2 separate regions of the Homo sapiens genome follow, and region 2 is linked to region 1. Evidence: promoter capture Hi-C in human tissues and cell types (Jung and others, 2019). All regions are on one chromosome and are shown on one strand. The core of a region is centred on a gene start or on the middle of the fragment in contact, and the rest is flanking DNA. Distances in the headings are between cores, read along the strand shown. Region 1 holds the start of TPRKB (TP53RK binding protein). Region 2 overlaps TET3 (tet methylcytosine dioxygenase 3).

Region 1 (3,994 bases), core at 20-2,519:
GGCGTGAGCCACCGCACCTGGCCGAATGTTCTTCATGTTTTAGCCCAGTGTGTCATGCCTCCCCACCTCTTCCCCCTGCCCCTGCCCCCTGCAATTAGGCTGTTGCATTGCCACAAAGAAATACCTGAGACTGGGTAATTTATATAGAAACGAGGTTAAATTGGCTCATGTTTCTGCAGGCTGTACAGGAAGCATAGTACCACCATCTGTTTGGCCTCTGAGGAGGCCCCAGGGAGCTTTTACTATTGGCAGAAGGAGAAGAGAGAGCAGGCACATCACATGGTGAGAACTGGACCAAGAGACTGTGTTGGAGGGTGCCACACACTTCTAAATAACCACATCTTCCTGGCACTCACTCACTATTGCAAAGACACCAAGCCATGAGAGATCCACTTCCATGACCCAAACACCTCCCATCAGGTCCCACCTCCAAAAATGGGGACAATTCAACATGAGATTTGGCAGGGACATATATTCAATCCATCCCTGGACCCCCAAATCTCATGTCCTTCTGACATTGCAAAACATAATCATGCCTTCCCAATCACCTACCAAAATTTTAACTTGTTCCAGCATTAAACTCAAAAGTCCAAAGTGTCACAGGAGACATGGCCCAGAAAAAGAACTAATCCCAGCTCCTTGGGAGGCCAAGGCGGGTGGATCACGAGGTCAGGTGATCCAGACCATCCTAGCTAACACGGTGAAACCCCGTCTCTACTAAAAATACAAAAAATTAGCGGGGCGTGGTGGCGGGTGCCTGTAGTCCCAGCTGCTCGGGAGGCTGAGGCAGGAGAATGGCTTGAACCGGGACGCGGAGGTTGCAGTGAGCCGAGATTGCACCACAGCACTCCAGCCTGAGTAACAGAGCAAGACTCTGTCTCAAAAACCAAAGAAATCTCCAGCAGCGGAAATGTATGTAGAACTCATTTTGGTCAGTACTTTTCCTTGTACAGGAAGAAACTGAGGTCGCCCGGTGCAACGCCCAACACAGGTTAAGACAAAGCCGAGACTCAAAACCAGACCCCAGCTTCCGGTCCCAGCCCATAGATTCTTCCATTTCCTTCGCCGGAAGTGATATACAGCCCCTGTTCTCCTTCGCGTCCGTTGACGGGACCCAGGTTGGGGAGGCGGAAGAATGGGCGGGACCATGGGCGGAAGCACCCCTCCTACCAGGACCCGGAAACAGATGGCCACCCCGAGCCGGCCTATCCGGAAACTGGCTCGAAGAAGACGGGGATTGGCCATCGCTTCCGGAAGTTGTGAGCTTTGTTTCGGAGCGGGAGCTCTTCCGAGACGCACTGGGGGCCGGATGGTGAGTTTTCCTTGCGCTCTAACGGGCAGGCTCGGGAGCGGGAGGGTCCGGGCAGTTTTAGTAGTGTCTTTGGGACAACGGCTGCGGTTGGTATTTCTCAAGCGGCAACGAGGCCAGCCCCTGGGAATGCAGCACGAGAATGATAGAGTCAGGCTGTCCCCTCAAGAAATAGTTTAGTGAGGAGACATGCAGCGGATAGGCGCAGGATTCTTCAGAGTTGTGATTGGGCCCAAAAAGGAGCTAGTCCTCAGACTAAAAAGAGCCGTAGTGCCGGGGTTCTGGGCGCTGTAGTAAATGGACTCCAAATGGAGTTGAAGGGAGGGAGGAGTGCGTCAGGCGGAGATGAAAGGAGAGAGGGAACTACCTGTCCGATAGGGCAGAATCGGGGAGAAAGGTTGGTGACTTGAGCTTAGAGAAGGCCATTGCGGCGGTAGCAGAAGAGGAGAGGCAGGGACCAGATCGTAGAGTGTGGAACACCGTGACACAAAGTTGGGGCTTTATCATAAGAGCAGCAGAATGACAAGATCTGATGTACATTTTGAAAGGATCACTGTAACTGCTGGTGACGACTGGATTATAGGAGGGCAGGAATTGTGAGAAACCACTCAGAAGGCTACTGCTGTAGATGAGCGATGTGACCTAGCGTATGGGAGAGAAGTGGACGAATCAAAAGTATATTTAGCAGGTGAAAATTCAGGACTTTACGGATTAGATATAGGATTTGAGTGACAGGTTGGGTCTCAACGATGATTCCAAGTTTCTGACCTGAGTGAGTAAATTACGCTAAACAAGAACAAACTATTTTGAAGTTTTCTAAGGGTTCTTCCCCCCACTCAGTGTTAAAAAGCACGTTTTTTTCCTTTCTTATTATGTGTACTCATGTTTTGTGTGCTTACTGTAGAAAATTCAGAACATACATAACAAAATATTTTCTTTTATATAAAGGACAATAAAAATCACCTCATAACCTCACTACCCAAGATGGTCATATTTTAGTGTTTCTTTCATGTATTTTAAAAAAATATGTGTATCTTTTTATATAATTGGGATCCTACTGATTATGTCTTTCTGTATCCATTTTTTCCACCTTAGCATGACTAATGATTGAACTGTGTGCCAGGATATCGTTCACAAATATATTTTTTTCTGTTTGTAACAGAAAAAGTCAAATTAATTCTAAATAAGAGATAACATTAACTTTTTGGTGTATTTTCTTTTTAATATTTGTTTAAAAGCCTTTTAAAAAACCCACATTTTGGCCAGTTTGTGTTTTGTTTTCCATTCAGATGTTTTTACTTACTTAATGTTATTTATTGCCGTTTTTACACACCGTCAAGACCACATGTTTTAATGGTTGTTAAATAACAACTAATCCCATCATTAGCTAGATAGGTTATTTGCAACTTTTTACTGTTAAAATAATGAGAGGAACATCTTATATAATTATTGGATTCCTAATGACTTCCATCAGAAAGAGTTCTAGAAATATAATCTGCCAGGTAAAAGGATAAAATGAGTCTCAAATTGCCCCACCAAAATATTTTATTAAGAATTTGATAGAAATTGTTTTAAAGAAATTTTTGCAATACATAGTTTTTCCATTCAAAGATATGGTCATGTCTTTCTGGTTATTCAAGTTGTCTTTTATGTTTCTTTTATGTCTTTATATATAATAACCTATCCTTTTCTTGTTAAGCTTATGTCCAAGAAAGGAGCGACATTGATTATTTAATAATTGTACCCTCTCTGCTTAATTTCCATGCGTGGAATGAATATCTTTGGGTCAAGTGGGATACTTTATCCTTTTTTTTTATTTTTATACTTTAAGTTCTAGGGTACATGTGCACAACGTGCAGGTTTGTTACATCTGTATACATGTGCCATGTTTGTATGCTGCACCCATTAACTCATCGTTTACATTAGGTATATCTCCTAATGCTATCCCTTCCCCCTATTCTTTTTTTTTTTTGAGACGGAGTTTCACTCTTGTTGCCCAGGCTGGGGTGCAATGGTATGATCTCGGCTCACTGCAACCTCTGCCTCCCAGGTTCAAGCGATTCTTCTGCCTCAGCCTCCTGAGTAGCTGGGATTACAGGCATGCGCCACCATGCCTGGCTAATTTTTTTGGCATTTTTAGTAGAGACGGGGTTTCTCCATGTTGGTCAGGCTGGTCTCGAACTCCCAACCTCAGGTGATCTGCTCGCCTCGGCCTCCCAGAGTGCTGAGATTACAGGCATGAGCCACTGCACCCAGCCTACTTTATTCTTTAAAATTATTTTCTTCCTTAATATTTATGTCTAGGCCTTCCTAAAATATAAATAAAATGATGAGATCAGGAAGTTAAAAAGACTAAGATAGAGTAAGACTTCATTAATACCGTAAGCAACCTCTGGTTTAAAAAATTCCTGACATTCTGCTCCTACTTGTCTGCTGGGGAAGCAGCCCTTCAACCATGCACCTGAGCCTGCCTCATCTGAACAAACAGCAACCAGCTGGGCCCCTTGGCGTTTCCCTGGGGATGACAACAGAACAACTCAGAAGGGTTAGGAAGACAACATCTCATGAGGATGCCAAATGGGCTTTGGCGATGGATTTTTCTAGTTTAACACTTTTATCAAGTTACTTTCAAAGTTTTTGAATATTTATTAAGAAATGAGTTCTGATGTTAACTTTTAAATGAAA
Region 2 (4,295 bases), core at 1,565-4,064, 290 kb before region 1:
CCCATGGCCAGAAAAGCCCCCATCAGTTCCCAGCGAGGCAGGGCATTCTCACAACTCCTCCCACCCAACAGCACAGATCTACTCCTCATCACCCACACCTCCTACCCCAAAAGTCTAATAGGCTAAAGAAACAGAAAGCATGCATTGCTAACACCACAGTCCCCCGCAGAGCCAGTCCTTCACTAAAGGCTCCATGTACTTTCCCTAAAGAAGCCCCCAATCCCTCAAAACCCACTGACAGCTCAGGTGTGTCAAAGGGGCCAGGTTTAGAGAAGGAGGACAGCAGCCCACAGTTTTGAGTGCTGAGTGCAAACTTTAAATAAGCACCTTTACGTTTAAATGTAACCTTTCTATTCTTCCAACAATTCCACATCCATTTTAGTAGATGAGGTACAGAGAGGATAACTAACATACTCCAAAGCTCAGAATTGGTGAGTGGCAAAGTAGAATCCAACATCAGAGTCAATAGTGGATGCCCATGGCCTCCCAGGTACCAAGGTTCTAATCATTCTTTTGGAGAATGAGCTCCCACATGTGCCTCAATAAATATTCATGGATTTCAGCTTTTCACAGGAATCCCTGTGTGTTTGCCCCCACTCAATCCTTTCTGAAGGACTTAAGACCTAAGTTTTTCATTCAAAGAAATAAATCTTTAAGTGACCACCCAAAAATCTAGAGGAAAATTAATTTTTGGCAGAGGGTATCCACCTACCAGCCACAAGATCAACTTCACAGAGTAGGCTAGGAAATGCCATTTAGGGAAGCCTGCTGCTGTCCAGAAGGCAGGAAATTGGGGAGCACAAATTAATCCTCTTTATCCTAAACTTCAACTCCTGGAAAAGTCACACAACTCATCTTAGTGTGTAAAGCTTCATTATCCACAGTCACTACTCGTTTATTAGCCCAGATAACTGAAAGATGCCAGTAATCTGGGTTTGCACATGTTCATCTGAAAGGCCTGGGTGCAATGCTGGAGAAACAGAACAGGAACCTAGGCATTTGCGCAACCATTATCTGTTTCTGAGAGTCGGGGTGATGAGGAAGGCCACGGGGGTCCCTCGTCTCTCTGGCCTGTCTGTGGCAGCAGATCACCCACTCACCTGCCCACCCTGGGTTTCCGTGACCCTGCCGGTTACTGGTCCTCCTCCATTCTCCTTTTCCTCCTCCGTCCCCTCAACAGAGCTGTTCTCCACTCTCCTGCCCTCACTGCTCTCCATCGCCCCATGCTCCCCTCAGAAGCCTCCCCTCCAATCAAGGCCCCACCGCTCAGCCTGCACCAACAGCCCCAAAGTTTCCTTTTTCCTTGACTGCTTTCCAGCTACCAGACACACTTCCACTTGAATGCAACTTAAGCCCATCACATTTACAACTTAACTCAGCGCCTGCATCCTTTTCCTCAGCAACTCCCCCCCGGACATCCCTTTACAAAAAAAAATCACGTTAAGATCCATTCCCCTGGGCATCCTGGCTAAACCCTTCCATCCCCTCTGATGTCCTCTTGATGTTTCCATATGCAAGCAAACCCTAGTCCTGCCAACTGCTCCTGTAGAGCATTTCAGATCTGCCTTCTTTTTGTTTTCTCCTCATTTATCTCTCACAAGGACAAACTCAGGAGGTGGCTCCTTGACTGGCCCCCTGCCTCTGCTTCCACCCCAGAACACTACTGTTGGACTCATATTCAACCCACTGAGCCTTGAACCCCCATCACCCAGCTCCCAGGCCAGGGTGCCTTCTAATTCACAACTTACAACTTCTGTCTTGGTTCAAACAGTAAAAATAAATAAGTAAATAAATCTGTAGATAAGCAAATAAATGAACACATGAACAAATGTTATCAAGAGCAATAAAGACTACTTCCATCAAGCAGTGCTATTCCTAGAAACTTGAGCTTATAAGTTTGCATTAAAAAAAATCTTTCCACACATTAGTGAAAGCTGAAAACTCAGTATGAGGGGCTTGGTTTGGTAAACTATGATACAATTCAACAGAGTATTATACACTCATCTAAACCTGCAATTATAAACACTAAGGAAAAAAGCTAGATGAAATAGGAAGAATAGCAGAATACCATACTGTATGAAGTTTAGACTGCCAACTATGTAAAACCAAGCACACAAATGAGAAAACTAGGTAGTTTTTTTAAAAAGTGAAAATAAGTATTTGCAGCCCACAGAATTATGAGATGTCACTCACTGATGCTATCAGCACATCATAACAACCATTCCTTTCCTATATGCATACATAATTATGTATTCATTCATTTATCTCTCAAACAAATATACATTCCGCATCACTTCTTTGTGGATAGAGTAGTGAACAAACAGAGTCCTTTCTCTTGGATAGGGACTTTTTAGACGTTTGATTTTGTCTTAGATCCTATTCAAAGGCAAGTTCCTTTAGGAACTGATACTGTACCACTATCACTAACATGTGCAGGGCAACATAAACCCATGTTACATACATACTCTGTGGTTTTGAGTATGTGATGAAAGCAATGAAAACTGATATTAACAGTGACTTTATCTCCAAGTGAAGCTGCCACTAGTGTAGTTACTGACAGGATATCAAAGGCATACTACAAACTCATTATAGAGCCAGAGAAAACCCTGGTGGATGATCCAAGAGAATAAAGAGAGGTCATAGGCATAGAATAAGGAACAGAAAGGACAGCTTCAGTAGAAGTTGCTGAGAGAGACAGAACAAGAGGTTCTTTTCACTGTGGAGAATAAAAAAGATGTAAAAATCTCCCACTGCCTAAAGATGACTATAGTTTGTATTTGGTATCTTTTTTAACTATGCAACATACACTTAATTTACAAAACTGGGATGACTGAGTATATCAGTGGTTTTTTCTCATATGCTAATTTCTTCCCTAACTGTATAAACATTTTCCTATATTGTTAACTATTCTTCAAGAATTTCATTTTTAATAGCTGTACTGTTTTCTCTGGCATGTATATAGCACACACAGGGCCCCGGAGGCTGAATCTCTAGGTTTTCTCCTGTTTGCTATATTCCCAAGGGACGTATTGACTGTTGGAATAGTGTCTTTCCTCCTCCTTCCATGTCTATTTGGGCTTATTATTCCCTTGAGAACAGGGATGGCAACTTGGCACTAAAGGCTGAATGGATGGATTCTACTCAACCTTGAAGGCTGTAGGAAGCAACCTTGATAACAACAGGTAGGGGTAGGATTTTACTCACATTAGTACAAGGGCTTCATCTTATTTGGGTGACTACAAATATAAAAGGTACGTGTCTAGTAAGCCTTTGGGGACAACTGCCCCTTTCAAGATTGGAGGAGAAGCAGTAGTAACACTAGTATTTGCTGTTCCAGTACCCCAAGGTAACAATCATGAGACCCCCTAAGGCCCATGGTTCTACAAACACTGGTTGAAGACATGCCCAGCAAGAGATAAGCAGATTGAGCATGGCCAGCTGAGTCTTGGCCAGGACTCCTGTAAGTGTGATCTATGGACTAGCACTATTCTGCTATCTCCATTAGTCTGTGACAAGGTAAATACAAAAGCTAAGAGTGTTAACTTTAGACACTTGTATCACAATTTGACATTGTCATGGCATCTAAGCACATGATCATTTTTCTAGTAATTCATTCTTATTTTTACAAAATTATCAGTCCATGAATTAGAAATTTTTAAAACTTAGTCCTTCACCAGAAATTTTGAAGATAACTGATGTACATCATGTAAATGTTAATACCAAACAATACATGCAAGTAACCAATAAAAAAGCTATAAAGACCAATCTAGCTCTCTCATCTACTATAAACATCTACAAAACAGTGAGAAGACACTAAGATAATTAAATGGGAAAAGAACAGTCTTTTAATTGGGACAACTGGTTATCCAGTTGCAACAGCATGTGAACCCCTGCCTCACACCATATACAAAAACTCACTCAAAATGGATCAAAGACCCAAGTGTAAGAACTAAAACTATAAAACTCTAAAACAGACATAAATATTTATTATCTTGGATTAGGCAGAACTTTCTCAGATATGAGACCAAAAGAAAAAAGATAAACTGTACTTCATCAAAATTAAAAACTTTTGAGTTTCAAAGGACACCATCAAGAAAGTGAAAAAAAAAACGGCTAGGCATGGTAACTCAAATCTGTAATTCCAGCACTTTGGGTGGCTGAAGAATTGCTTGATGCCAGGAGTCTGAGACCAGCCCAGGCAACAAAGCAAGACCCCTGCTCTACATAATTTTTTTTTTAAAATTAGGCAGGCATGGTGGTGGCACACATCTGTAGTCCTAGCTACTTGGGAGGCT

Evidence for each region. The method cuts DNA at HindIII sites, captures the fragments that hold promoters and counts their contacts. A contact is called where the count stands out against the background at its distance.
Region 2: a contact is called between a fragment that was not itself captured here and the fragment with the promoter of TPRKB in region 1, in 1 of the 25 tissues and cell types used here (aorta).

The regions. Positions count from the first base shown.
Region 1 is chr2:73,734,620-73,738,613 of GRCh38, reverse strand. It overlaps TPRKB (TP53RK binding protein), which reads left to right and starts at 1,269. Exons shown (of 5, transcript NM_016058.5): 1 at 1,269-1,312. RefSeq lists enhancers at 828-887, 928-1,007. The HindIII fragment of the contact is 20,385 bases long and covers 1-3,994 here.
Region 2 is chr2:74,028,101-74,032,395 of GRCh38, reverse strand. The region is part of intron 3 of TET3 (tet methylcytosine dioxygenase 3); the gene reads right to left. Among named protein-coding and RNA genes, the nearest start is that of TET3, 45 kb to the right of the region's middle. RefSeq lists enhancers at 1-58, 631-1,130, 1,131-1,632. The HindIII fragment of the contact is 7,139 bases long and covers 1-4,295 here.